5 separate regions of the Homo sapiens genome follow, and all the other regions are linked to region 1. Evidence: promoter capture Hi-C in human tissues and cell types (Jung and others, 2019). All regions are on one chromosome and are shown on one strand. The core of a region is centred on a gene start or on the middle of the fragment in contact, and the rest is flanking DNA. Distances in the headings are between cores, read along the strand shown.

What was found. The method cuts DNA at HindIII sites, captures the fragments that hold promoters and counts their contacts. A contact is called where the count stands out against the background at its distance.
Region 2: a fragment that was not itself captured here is called in contact with the fragment with the promoter of TSHZ2 in region 1 in 1 of the 25 tissues and cell types used here (dorsolateral prefrontal cortex).
Region 3: the fragment with the promoter of ZFP64 here is called in contact with the fragment with the promoter of TSHZ2 in region 1 in 1 of the 25 tissues and cell types used here (heart right ventricle).
Region 4: a contact is called between a fragment that was not itself captured here and the fragment with the promoter of TSHZ2 in region 1, in 1 of the 25 tissues and cell types used here (lymphoblastoid cells).
Region 5: a contact is called between a fragment that was not itself captured here and the fragment with the promoter of TSHZ2 in region 1, in 2 of the 25 tissues and cell types used here (dorsolateral prefrontal cortex and mesenchymal stem cells).

The regions. Positions count from the first base shown.
Region 1 is chr20:52,970,993-52,973,740 of GRCh38, forward strand. It overlaps TSHZ2 (teashirt zinc finger homeobox 2), which reads left to right and starts at 1,366. Exons shown (of 3, transcript NM_173485.6): 1 at 1,366-2,341. The coding sequence starts at 2,302. The HindIII fragment of the contact is 6,451 bases long and covers 1-2,748 here.
Region 2 is chr20:53,933,555-53,936,302 of GRCh38, forward strand. The region is part of intron 1 of BCAS1-AS1 (BCAS1 antisense RNA 1); the gene reads left to right. Among named protein-coding and RNA genes, the nearest start is that of BCAS1-AS1, 19 kb to the left of the region's middle. RefSeq lists an enhancer at 1,458-1,959. The HindIII fragment of the contact is 4,234 bases long and covers 1-2,748 here.
Region 3 is chr20:52,190,420-52,193,167 of GRCh38, forward strand. ZFP64 (ZFP64 zinc finger protein) reads right to left here and starts at 1,360. Exons shown (of 6, transcript NM_018197.3): 1 at 1,172-1,360. The coding sequence starts at 1,217. RefSeq lists enhancers at 215-1,071, 2,112-2,241 and silencers at 832-1,071, 1,432-1,701. The HindIII fragment of the contact is 31,514 bases long and covers 1-2,748 here.
Region 4 is chr20:52,262,569-52,265,316 of GRCh38, forward strand. The region is part of intron 2 of LOC105372666 (a long non-coding RNA gene); the gene reads left to right. Among named protein-coding and RNA genes, the nearest start is that of ZFP64, 72 kb to the left of the region's middle. The HindIII fragment of the contact is 6,105 bases long and covers 1-2,748 here.
Region 5 is chr20:52,319,930-52,322,677 of GRCh38, forward strand. All of the region lies in intron 3 of LOC105372666 (a long non-coding RNA gene), which reads left to right. Among named protein-coding and RNA genes, the nearest start is that of ZFP64, 130 kb to the left of the region's middle. The HindIII fragment of the contact is 6,006 bases long and covers 1-2,748 here.

The sequences.
Region 1 (2,748 bases), core at 116-2,615:
ACCTCTAGTCCCAGCCTGCATCAAATGCCCTCAGTTGCTTTGCCCTCTCACTGGAAGGAGCACTCCTTGAGGGCATGGTCTAGGTTCACCTTGTTCACAGACTTGCCCCCAACACCTCAAAAGGTGCCTGGCCGATAGCAGAACTCAATAATCACATGTTTGTTTCAATCTCTCTGTGCTCAAATGCCATATCCTACATTGAATCTAGAGCCACCCACCCCCTTTTAGACACTATTACAGCACTCAGCTTAACGTCTTCATGGAGCGAATCACTCAAAGTATCCTGTTTATTTGCTTGCTTACTTTTCATTCATTCAACAAATATTTTACTGGGCACTTATTATATGTCTTGTGCTTTGCCAGCACTTGGGGATATAAGAGAACAAAGAGGCAAAAATCCTTCCTTCCATTGGAGCTTACATTCAAGAGGGGAACTTGTACAATCAACAGAATAGAAAACTGTCTATAACCTGTGTGACACTCACTGATCAGCTCACTGGGGAATAACAAAATGGAGAAATGGGGCAGGGAGTGTGTGTGTGTGTGTGTGTGTGTATTTTAGGTGAGGTAGACCTTTGGGAAAAGGGGACATTTAAGCAAAGATTGGATAGCTGGGGGGCACTTGTCTGCACTCCCCCATTAGAATATAAATACCAACATGGCCACCACCTTCCCTTTCTCTGTGGCCTCTGTGTCTCCAGAATAGGCACATAGTAGATGCTCAATAAACATTCTTCAAAGGAAACAAAAAGAGGAGTATATGATTAGACCTTAAAGTAGACAGAAGGGAGATTTTTGTTTTTGTGACCACCCATTGATTAGCGAGAAAGTGGGAGGGACAGGGGCACTAAATTGAAGGGGTCGTGGGGAGCACATTTTGGTGGGGGCAGGTTAAGACTTACAGGATGGAGATCCTCACTGGATAAGGTCCCCTCCCCCTTCCCAGCCCCGAGCAAACCTAAGTTCTCCCTCTCCTAAGATTGTGCATGGTCCCTGCTGGTCAGCCAACCTGGCCCCCCTGAATCTCCCTCCACAGCCTCCCAGCTTCAGAGTTCAGCCATCATCACACTGCCTCCTTTTCTCCCGCACCCCTTCCCTCCTCACCTCCTTTCCTCCCGCCCCCGCCCCTTCCGCCTCCCGGAGGGGTGTCCCCGCGCCCGGTGGGCACGCCCTCGCCCCGGCGGAGAGGGCGCACAGAGGGGCCTGGGCCGGCGCGCCGGGGCCCCCGCCCCCAGCCCCTCTCCCCTGCGGGACGCTGTCCCTTTAATAGGCTCCCGCTGCCTGGCGCTCTGCGGCTGGGGAGTAAATTTCTCCCTGTCATCAGGTCGCGGGGAGAGGAGGAGGAGGAGGAGTTTGTTAATGTTCAGTTTGTTCAGCGGGATCGATGTTTGCTGGCATCGCCTCGCCCTGTCTTGTGTGTGTGTGCGAGGGTGTGTGTGTGTGTTTGTGTGTGTGTGCATATGTGGGGGGTGTGAGTGTGTGTGTGCGAGGAAGCGGGGGTGCGTGCGCGTGTGAGTGCGTGTGTGAGTGTCTGTGTGTGTGTCTGTGTGTGTGTGTGAGTGAGTGAATTCCAGATTTTCTGTCTTTCCAAAACCCGCTCCTGTCCTCTCGCATATCACTCACAGACGGGGATCTGACAGCAGCCACAAACCTACAGTGAGTGATCGCTCTCCCCCCGGCACGAATCCGCCATAGAGATCGGCGAGGAGGAGGAGGAGGAGGAGGAAGAAAAGAAGGAGGAGGTGGAGGAGGAGGTGGAGGAGGAGGAGGAGGAGGGAAAGAGGAGAAGGAAGAAGAAGAAAAAGAAGAAACCCACTACCTTCCCAGGATTGCCTTTTTTTTTTCCTTATCTTTACGCGCGAGTGTGCCTGTGGCGCGTGTGCGCCCCTCGTCCCTTCCATCCGAACCCGGGCTTGGATGTTTAATAAAGAAATCAAGTGTCTCAACAGTCACCAAAAAAAAAAAAAACCGCAAAAACAAAACCAAAAAAATTCCAAAAGCAAAAACAAAAAAGAGAGAGGAAAAAAAATTCAAAATAAACAAACAAACAAACAAGGCAGAACCAACCTCTACTTCAAAGCAGCCGGCACAAGCCACCCGTGTCTGCCACCCAGAGAGGGGGGTCTCTGGCCCGTGGTGGAGGAGTTGCAGGGGGGATCGTCAGGGGGACAGAGGCCGAGTGACGTCCTAGGAGCCACCGGGCAAGAGGCGGAGGAGACCCAGAGAGGCCAGAGAGACAGCGGGCCCCAGCGCGCGGCTCGGGGCTGGGGCGCCAGAAGTGGGACTGGAGCGAAGTAGAGGATGCCGAGGAGAAAACAGCAGGCACCCAAGCGGGCGGCAGGTAAGAGAAACGGCTCCGCTTCGGGGCTGCCCTGTGCGCCGAGCTCCTCGCCCGCCCTCCTTGCCCCTGGGTGCCCGGGGGCACCACCCACTTAAGCTTTCGGGGGAGTTTGCGCCGGGTGCCCTTCTAATAACCCCGTCCTCTCTCGCCTTCTCTGGTCTCCCAAATCCTCCCCTTCCAAGCTCCGGTTGGGTTGGGGTGAGCTATCCCACCAAGCCTTTCCTCCTTAAACTTTCTTTCCTCCACCCTCTACCCCACCCCTAACTTTCTTCCAGTCTGTTTCTTGCCTCTCGGGCCAAAGTCGGATTGAGGATTTGGGGTGCGGAGTAGGGAGACAGCCCCTCCACCCCTGCATCCCTCTGCGTGGTCAGTGCCAGTGGCTTTTGGCCTCCAGGGATAGCGTCTCC
Region 2 (2,748 bases), core at 157-2,656, 960 kb after region 1:
CCATTTTTCCCAAGAGAAATTTCACATATTAAATGGCTTTGGTTTTCCACAGATGATGTTAGAGATAGCAAGTGGAGGTAGAGGGAATGAAGGGAGATCAAATCAAGAGAGGTTAAGATAGAGGAAGTAGCTTTACCTAAGGTGAGTAGACCCTAGACAACTGGCAGAACGCTGGGCCAAAGGAAAGATATAGGGGGCAGGATGGCATTTTCTGCAGATAAATGACCCCAGAAATTCAGACACTGTGATATCCAATATTCACTTTATATCTCTCTTTATTGTGTTGTATTTCCCTTAAGTAAGTGAGGTTCAGAGAGGATAATCAGCTTGTCCAACATCAAACAGCCGGTCAGAGTGACAGGCTGACATTCAAACTCATGCCAGTAGACTCTAGATCCCACACCTTTCGCTGCTGAACTATATTAAAGATCAGAGGCTTTTAAAGTTTTCTTATTACAAATCATAATAAGAAATACATTTTGAGTCTATACACATACATTAGTAATCAAAACAAACCTTCCACTAATGGATGTTAACCATATTACCCGTGATGCACCATGAGCTTTCTGTTGTATTCTATTCTATTCCATTCTGTTCCATTCCATTTCATTTGCTGGATCAACATAAGTGGGTTGGGCCCTGGCTTCAAATAAAAACCACTGCTAAAGACAGGAACTTACCTTAAAGGTTAAAAAAAGTACATAACTCCGATTAGCCAAGAAAAACTCAGAAAGTGAGAAGGAAGGGCAAAAAAAAAAAAAAAAAAGTCACTTCTTTTTGTCTTTCAGGAATTTTAATAATAAAACAGCTTTGGATCACCTATTTTAGATTCTTCTAGTAGACAGCCCCCAGTAGATTCCTTAACTTTTCAAATGGCATTGAAAAAGCGAGGAAGTTATTTCACCTCTTTGGGAGGCTGTCTCAGTCCTCTCTATCCATTGGAGGGCAGGGCAGCCACTCAATAAGTGTCTGTTGCATGAGTCAAGTAAAGGATCAGACCGGGGTGTCTCAGAGCCTTCCCTGCTCTTCTATTCTCTGTTAAGCCACTGAATGAAGAAGGCTGCCACATTTTCCTCTGGGTCAATATCAACAGCAAAACAATATCCCAGAACGGTCATTTCTGGGACAATAAATAGTTTTCCAGAGCTGCTATCTTAGGCCTCTCTGCCACTAAGGGATTAAAGAGAAATGCACACCCCTCCAGAATTTCCTGTCCTGTCTTGCGGTTAACTTAAAACATTTTCAACTCCCGCCTCCCCCTTTCTCACCATCTCTCTTCATGGTTAAAGAGGTTATAAATTTGCAAAGGAAATGATTAAGCAAATCCAGAAAATTTGGCCATGGGACCTGATTTTTCAAGGCCTTAGTTTTTGAAAGCTGAAGAAATCTGTCCACTGAAGGATTTGCACATGAGTTTTTTAGTCTTAGGGCTGGGGCATAATTTCCTGTTTTTGTATTCTCAAAACTGTTAAGCTACTTGTGAACAACTGGCCAGCAAAGATAGGGAGGGGGCAGGGGATGCGGAGAGAGGGTTGTGAGCCCAGAGGGGAGGAGAAAGGCTGTTTCTCCTCAGTTCTCACAGAACCTCTATGAAAATAGAAAGATTTATTTATTTATTTACTTTAAAGACTGTGAAGTAGAGACAAGGGGTAGATTCTAGACATTGAAGTTGGAGGTGTGAGTGGTAAAGAGGAGAAGAAACATGTTTTAGCAGGAACTTGAATAAGCTGATTGAAACTCAAAGAACAGTCTGTTTCCATAAGCATGAACATTTCTTAGACACTCATTTTGTGCTTTGCATGGAATACATCGTTAAATCCCCACAGCAACTCAGTGAGGTGGATTCTACTAGTGTCTCCACTTTATGGATGTGAAAGTGAAGCTGGAAGAAGTTAAGGAACCTGCTCAAAGCCACGTGGCTAGCAAGTAGCACCACTGGGATTGCAACCAAGGCTGTTTGGACCCAGAGCCTGTGTTCATAGCTACTGCTCTCTTCTGAAGATAAAGGAGGAGACAAGGATGTCAGCATGACCATAGCATACATGTTCATTTATTTAGAGCCAGGGAAGGGGGTGGGACACTAATCAAGGTTGCCCCTTCCCTTCACTTCCCTTCCCTTCCCTTCCCTTCCCTTCCCTCCCCTCCCTTCTCCTCCCCTCCCCTCCCCTTCCCTTCCCTTTTTTCTCCTCTTAAAGCCACCAACTGTGCTAGGTATTTGTATGTTTACTCTCAGATCATTTTTCCAAGCTTCTCTTCAAACTGCATTTCCCAGGTTCCATTACCAACTGGCTTCTGGTTAAGTTCAGCCAGTGGGCGGCACTGACACGTATTTTTCCTGCCTCCTCCCTCCAGTCAACAAAAAGGTACTGCTTGCAGAAGCCTCCATTGGGTTCCAGCTACCCTCAAGCAGCCTCACCCCCATCCACATGGGGTTCTATTTCCCACAGGGTGCCGGGTTCCCTAGCTCCAGAAGCATCACCTCTTCCCTTTGGCTGTGTGTCTCTAGTGGTGGTTCTTTTTGTAGCCTATTTCTATTTCTTTCTTTCTTTTTTTTTTTAAATTATACTTTAAGTTTTAGGGTACATGTGCACAATGTGCAGGTTAGTTACATAGGTATACATGTGCCATGTTCTATTTCTAATCTCCGGGTGGGCCTCACGGCCCCATGGTTGTCTTTTCAACTCTTCCAGTACCTTTAAAACTAGCACCCATATTAATGTCCTTCTATTCAGCTCCTTGTCATGGGAT
Region 3 (2,748 bases), core at 110-2,609, 780 kb before region 1:
TCATCTGAAAAATGGGAGGAGAGGTTTCTAATCCATGGTTTTTGTTTGTTTTTAATTTCTCCAAGAAAAAACACGGGCTTGTTATGAGAATTAAATGGGATGGTGCTCGTACCAGCACAGTCCCCCCTCCCCGCCAGTCCCCCAGCATGTTACCTGCTGGGTTCTTACTGAGGTACACTATTTAAACATGGACATATCTGAGCCCCACCTAGGAGATACTGAGTCATAACAGGGTGGGGTGGGGAGGATGGTGTTTAGGAAAATCTGTGCTTTTCACAGTAATGCAAGGAATACACCGCCAAGTTTGGGACCCAGTGTCTCCCAAACTGTTAACAGTAGCAGCTAACAAGCTGGGAGCTTACTATGTGCCAGATTTTCTGCAAACCCCTGGTAGATGGGTTCTCAAACTTCATGTGCTTCAGAGTTGCCCAGGCAGCTACGAAGGACAGCGGATCCCCAGCCCCACCCCCGAGATTGAATGGGTGGGGCCCAGAAAGCTGTTTTAAAATACACGCTCTCGCTCCCAGGTGGCTGGTTGCACTCAGTCTCTGGACCACACTTTGGGAAACAATGCACCGGGAGAAACCAGGGACTTGAAAAACGCTGATGTCCTCCTCGGTTAAATAAAAACTGAACCCCAAACCCAAATAAAGCGACCACGGCCCCGTTTTCCATTCAGATCTCCACCCTTAATGAGGAAAAGGCTTTGCAATGAGCCGGCAGGACCTCGTGAGACCTGGTGATTCCCCCAATCTCCAGGCTCTAATTTTGAGCCACTGAGGCAGAAGTTTTCCCATCAGTGTTGCCCCGTTTACCCTAGATTCCTCCCTTTCTCCTGCCCGCCCCAAACTCCGCCTGATGGGGCGGGAATGCCCTTAGGGGGTGGCGATTGTCTGAACGGCGTGCCCTCCCCCACTGTTCCCTTCCAAGGGGTCTCGCAAGGCTGGAGAGCGCCCCCGGTCTTGCGCCAGGTCGGGTGCGCCCCCACCCCAAGCCCACTCCGGCGCCCCCTGCACAGCGCGCCCGCCGCGGTCCCCGAGACGCGGCTCCGAGCCGTCACCCCGATTTCGGGGCCCCGGGCCTGCTGGCTGCGTCGCAGACGTGCTTGGGCCCGGGCCCCGGAGCGCGCACTGGGCCCCGGAGCGCGCACTGCTCCCGGAAAAGCACTTACTTTGCACCGAGCCCGCGAAGCTCTCGCCCTCGCTGCTCGCGTTCATGGCCGCAGACTGGGAGGTCCCCGGCCGGCCGGGATGCCAAAGTGGGGGACGCTGATCTACATGGTGCAAGGACTTTTCCTTTTATTTTTCCACACCCCCCACCCTGCCTTCTCCCAACTCTGCGAGGCGGGGAGGACGGATGTAAAGCAAGCTGCACTTCCGCTGCCTAGAGGGCGCTGGCCGGGCCCGGCGCCCCAACCTGGCTTTGCAGCAGCGGCTCCCCGGGGAAGCGGCGGGCGAATCCCGAGGCCCAGGCCCGCGGAGCCCCCCAACGCCCCCGGGGAGCTGGATGGCCACGCGCGTCCCGGCGTGCTGGGCGACCGCGGGTGGCGAGGGATGCGCCCCTGCCCGCACTCTGCGTTCTCCGCGGACGCGATTGGCCTCCCCGGCTCGGGGCGCCTTTTGCACCTGCAACCCCAGGCGTTGGGCCCCCAGCGCGGCCGTGCAGCAGCGCTGCTCCCGGGACGCCTGGGTGGTTTGCGGGGAGACCCACGTGCGGCTGCCGTTGCGGGGTGGGTGCGCGGGGCGCGGCGAGCTCCGGAGAAACCCAGGTTGGGCGTGAGCGCTGGGCAAATCAGCAAAGCGCTGGGCGGGTCCCTTGCCCCGCTAGGGAGACTGAGAGGACCGCGAAGAGGTGGGGTCGTAGCGCGGAGGGACCCCTGCTCCAGGAGCTGCCAACTTTATCGTGCATCGCAGTCGCCTGAAAGGCTTGTTAGAACACACGCTGTTGGGCCCACCCTAGCGTTTCTGCTTCAGTAGGTCTGGGGCGAGGCGTGAGAACGAGCATTTCTAAGTTCCCAGGTGATGCCCCTAGTGTTGGTCGGCGTCCACACTCTGAGGACAGTGACCTCTCTGCTCTGTCCCTCATGTCTTACTACTACTGTCTCCCCCGGGCTCCTGCGTCAGCCCTATTGTCTCTCTGCCGACCCTCCCAAGCCTCAGACCTCTCCCAGCCTCGAGGGATTTGCCCATAGAGTCTGTCCTGCTTCTGAAGGTCAGCATTCAAATTCACACTCAGGGAGGCCATGCTTGGCCTAATCTAATCATTCTAATATTGCAGCCCCCTCCTCCTCCCCCAACCACTCCCTGTCTCCTTCCTGTTTTTTTCTTTTTCTTTTTCTTTTCTTTTCTTTTCTTTTCTTTTCTTTTCTTTTCTTTTCTTTTCTTTTCTTTTCTTTTCTTTCTTTCTCTCTCTCTGCCTCTCTCTCTTTCTCCCTTTCTTTTTTTAGAGAGGGGGTCTTTCTCTGTCTCTCAGGCTGGAAGAGTGGTCGGATCCTAGCTCATTGCAGCCTCCAACTCCTGGGCTCAAGCAATCCCCCCTACAGGCGTGGGCCACCACCCTGGCTCACTTTTTAATTTTTATTTTTGTAGAGATGTTGCCCAGGCTGGTCTCGAATTCCTGGCCTCAAGCGATCCTCCATCAGCCTCCCAAAGTGCTGGGGTTACAGGTGTAAGCCACCATGCCTGGCCTGCTTTGTCCTTAAAAGGTGTTAGATGGAACATATTATGTATCTCGAGTATATCTGCTTAG
Region 4 (2,748 bases), core at 108-2,607, 710 kb before region 1:
CTCATTCTCTAGTATGGGAAGCCAATATGTACCAAGAGCTTGTAGGACACATGGTAGGTGCCATCATAGAGGACACATGGTATAAAGGAGGGAGTAGGCAACATATATGGAAAAGGGGTGACTTCTAGGGAATGTTTCACAAAGCAGGACTTATTTGTGCTGGATCTAGAAGGATGAGTGGGAATTTGTCAGACTGTTCACAACAGGTGGTGTATTAGTCTGTTTTCATGCTGCTAATAAAGACATACCCAAGACTGGGTAATTTATACAGGAAAGAGGTTTAATGGACTCACAGTTCTACATGTCTTGGGGGCCTCACAATCATGGCAGAAGGCAAGGAAGAGCAAGTCATGTCTTACGTGGATGGCAGCAGGCAAAGGGAGAACTTGGGCAGGGAAACTTCCCCTTATAAAACCATCAGATCTCATGAGACTTCTTCACTATCATGAGAACTGCATGGAAAAGACCTGCCCCCATGACTCAGTTACCTCCCACTGGGACCCTCCCACAACATGGGAATTTTGGGAGCTACAATTCAAGATGAGATTTGGGTGGCGACACAGCTACACCATACAGGTGGGAAAGGGTGGAGGATGCCAGGCTGAGCATTTTCAGAGTCATAGGGGAGTGAAATAGCTCTAAGTGGCTTCAGATGAATGTAGGTGGGAGGTAGTCCAGGGCTGAATCTTGCATAAAGTTTTAAGGATGTTGGATTTTATCCTTCTGGCTTGGAGTGAACAAAGCGTTTCAAGCAGGGAAAAGGATCACTATCACACTGGTATTTTAGAATAATCTCTCCAGCAGTTGTGTAGGGAATTGATTCTAGAGAAGGGACACCAAAAACAAGGAAATTAGTCAGAATTCAGGTAAGAGAAGGTGGGAAGAGCAAGGAGGTAGAAAGGAATCAACGCGGTGGCCAATTGGGTGTGAGGGAAAGAGGTGAATTCAGGAGAGCTCTTGCTGCTCGGATCCGAGAGTGGCTTTAACCCATTGGGAAGGACAGGCTTATACATAGGAGAGAAACTTAAAATCTACATTGCAAAGAAGTGAGACCTTAGATTAATATCATACATGAAAATAACTGGTGGTCAGAAAGGAGGGATATTAACTCAAGAAAATTCATGAAAGAGGCAGAATGGGAGATGCACTTTCACTACCAGAGGTTGCAATTGATGGTGAACCAGAGACTTCAGTGCAGATATTGTGCCCACACTTTAACTTCTGTGTCCAGGGCTCAAACGATAATACTAGGATTCAATCTTTCTAAACTCTTACCCCCTCTCTCCCTTTTTCCCTATGGTGCTTTCACTCCCAGCCAGACATGGACTCTCTCCAGAGAAAAAGAAAAAAATAAAAAAGCTTCCCTTTTTCTGGAGAAAGGGGATCAGAGAGTCAGTTTTTGAGATGTTGCCAATTTGGAAGTATATTTATTCTATATTTCACAACTGAGCAATAATTTTAACTAGCTATGGAATTCTTGGTTGGAAAGAAGTACTTTTGCATTAGTATTTTGAAGAAATGTATTTATTGTCTTCAATTTCCAGCATAACTGTTATGATGTGTGATGATGCTACTATAAACCTTTTAAAAACATTTAACCCTCTGGAAAGTTTTTAAAATTTGAAATTTCATGATGATAGAAATAAATATGGGACTTTCCTCACTCACTGAGCTGGGTAATTGTTGGATTCTTGAAGCTAGTTTTCTTAGGTTTGGGAACATTTTCTTGGAAAATTTCTATGTTACTTTCCTTTTTTATTTTTAATTTTTGTTACTGTTATTTTCTAAAATTATTATTTGGGTGTTGTATCTTTACTTTTTCTTTTAATATTTTAGTCTTCCATTATTCATCTCTTTTTCCTCTGTTCTACTTTCTGGAAAAGTTCTCACCATCATCTTCCAAACTGTCTTTTGAACTTTCAAAAAGTGATTTGTTGTCCTTTGAATGTTCCTTCTTAGACATTTTATTCATGAATGTTCTATCTCTCTGAAGATGTTTAGCATTTTTTATTTTTTTTGTAATATCTTTGTTTCTTCCAAGTTGCTTTTTCCTACTGTTTTTCATCTCTGAATTTAATGTTAAGAGGTTTTGGTAAAAAACATGGTGATGTTGGCTGGGCATGGTGGCTCATGCCTGTAATCCCAGCACTTTGGAAGGCTGAGGTGGGCAGATTACTTGAGCTCAGGAGTTCAAGACCAGCCTGGGCAACAGGACGAAACCCGGTCTCTACAAAAAAAAAAAAAAAAAAAAATTAGGTGGGTGTGATGGCGCTCACCTGTAGTCCCAGCTACTTGGGAGGCTGAGGTGGGAGGATCACTTGAATCCAGTGGGCAGAGGTTACGGTGAACTGTGATTGTGCCACTGCACTCCAGCCTGGGTGACAGAGTGAGACCCTGTCTGAAATACATATGTATATGTATTAAAATCTATAGATACATGTACATGGTGTTGCTTGGATGCCCATTTGAATTTTGAAGTGAGGCACTGAAAAGCAGACTCAGTGATTTATGTCTGGATTGATCTTGTTGACTGGTTGACCTCTTTGTGGGAGCCCTAGGTGGTGACTTGCCTGCTTCACGGAGGGAGTCCAATATATCAGTGTCTGTAGATTTTATTTTTCTTTTGGGTAGGCCAGGTTTTTGTTTTTTTTTTTTTTTTAGGAAACAGTGGATTTCCCAGTTAAGAGGGAGGTGAGTATGAACCAGGTAACCAGGACTCCCAGAAACCAGAGAAAGGAGGGTTTGAGT
Region 5 (2,748 bases), core at 98-2,597, 650 kb before region 1:
CTGTAATCCCAGCACTTTGGGAGGCCAAGGCAGGTGGATCACTTGAGTTTAGGAGTTCGAGACCAGCCTACCAACATGGTGAAACCCTGTCTCTACTAAAAATACAAAAATTAGCTGGGCATTTTGGTGCATGCCTGTAATCCCAGCTACTCGGGAGGCCGAGGCAGGAGAATCACTTGAACCCCGAAGGTGGAGGTTGTAGTGAGATGGGATCGTACCACTGCACTCCAGCCTGGGCGACAGAGCAAGACTCTGTCAAAAAAAAAAAAACCATCCTCTCCAAAAATCCCCATAAACTCCCACTTTTCTGTCTTTAAGATGAAGGACACCATGCTAGGCATTTAGGACTTGGTTTGGTTGACACTATGGGAATTAATCTGCCAATCTCTGAACTTCTTGACCACAACATCTCTGTTGCTACACCTCAGCCCTGTTGTTTGAAAGCAGCCATGAACAAGGCATAAACGAATGGGTGTGGCTCTGTTCCAATAAAACTTTACTTATAAAACCAGGCAGATGTGGCCCACCGGTCCTAGTTTGCTGACTACTGCCATATAAGATCAAAATATGCTCATTCCCCCTTCTAGTGTCATCTTCCACCTTGTATTAGTCCATTCTTGCATTGCTATAAAGAAATACTGAAGGCCGGGTGTGGTGGCTCATGCCTGTAATCCCAGCACTTTGGAAGGCCAAGGCGGGTGGGTTACCTGAGGTCAGGAGTTTGAGACCAGCCTGGCCAACATGGTGAAACTCGGTCTCTACTAAAAATACACAGAACAATTAGCTGTGCATGGTGGTGTGCACCTGTAATCCCAGCTACTCAGGAGGCTGAGGCAGCAGAGTTGCTTGAACCTGGGAGGTTGCAATGAGCTAAGATTGCACCACTGCACTCCATCCTGGGTGACAGAATGAGACTCCATCTCAAAAAAAAAATATTAACAAAATATTATATATTTTATGTACTAAGCCTTTCAAATCTGATGTATATTCTGTACTTGCAGTGTTTCTAGATTTTTGGACTAGTCACCTGTCAGATCCTCACTGGCCATGGTGACTACCATATTGGACAGCACAGGACTATAGAGTTTGAGCTTTTGAAGGACAAGGACAGGTTGATGTCCTGGTGACTGACTCATAAGCATTTCTTCAGTGGTGGCTAACTACCTATCTTTGGCCAACCTTCCTTGTGTTTCAGTCTGCCAAAGTTTTGGGATAAACCATCACTGTCAAAATTTATTGGTACTCAAGGGAAAATCAAGCTTTTTGTGGCATCACACAACATCATAAATTAAAACATATGCTTTAAAAAATTATGATGTTACATCATGCTTTGAGGTAATGTAATGTGACAGATTGTAATTTTTATTTTTGTAAGATTTCCTCAGTGTAAAGCAGGAAGTGGATTTGAGAAGGTTTGCAGTACCCAGGACCTCTGAATCAGGACCACATTTCCAGGCTGCCACAGTGTTGGTGCTTGGTACATCAGGCAGCGGTCTCTGCTGGGTCCTTAGTCTTCTTTTCTGTGACCCTCCTGTGGTTCATTTGGATTCTATGTTTATCCTAAGAATCTCCCAGGGATCAAGAGGGTTCTTTGCAACCTAATTCACTCTACTGGGCTATATGATTTTGGAACTAGAGTTTCCATTGGTTTATGTAGAATGACTGGCAAATTTTGTCTCAAATGCAAATTAGATTGGTTTTTAATGGTTGTCTGGGGTCTTAATGCTAAGAAAACTTCTGAGGATGCCTCTGCATTCATGTAAGAGATGACGTTAGTCAACCAGCAGTGTTTGCCATGGGCTTGCAAAGGGGTAGAGGCCGTTTATACAATATGTATTTGACCATCCTGACCTAAGTGTCTGTTTCTTGCTTCTTGGATGGGCACGTAATGGGAGTTTCTTTAATTGGGCTAGGAACAGTGTCAAAGGAAGGGCAGGGGTCCTATACATGGGTTGAACTTAGTGGCCAGTTTACCCAAGGCAGTTTGGGTGAGTGAAAGGCCCCAGCTGTGGTCAGTGCCTAGCAGAGCTTGTTGTATGGGAAGCAATGCCTAGTGCTAGGTTCAAATGTTGAGGCCAGGATAAACGTTAAGTCTGGAAGCCAGCAGGAATAAGGGAAGACTAGAATAAGTTATATAAAATAACAGGAGTAAGCAATTCTGACTGGAGGAAAGCTGGCAAAGCAATGGGTTTCATCTCATGGTAATCCAAATTGCTTAGTAGTGTCTGCCAAGAGCTCTGTGTTGGAGGGCTTCTGGATTGTGCCAGGGACTGGGGAGGCAGGAAGTCATGATTGATTGGTAATGTCTGCCATGAGTGTGGGAGCTACGCAGGACAGTACACATGCTACATATTTGCAATCCCTGATTTAGAGGCATGGTTATGCTGGAGTTCACACAGAGAGAGAGAGAGAGGCATGGTTGATTGGTAATGTCTGCCATGGATTTTGGAGTTATGCAGGATGGCACACATGCTACACATTTGCAATCCCTGATTTAGAATCATGGTTACAGTGATGGCTTAAGAAAATTCCCTGGTTGTCTTTGACATACGCATATTTTGTTTTCTCACCTAATATTTATTTTTTCACTTAATAATTGACCATTAGTTGTCTCGATCTGTGTTGGGGTTTAGTCATATTCATTGAACTATAATAAAATGGGTCTCCAAAGAACACAAGTTAGACAGTGGTAAGTGCCATTGAGTAAGTGGAGGAACTGGGGGGTTAGCAATGGGTTCATGAAGGATG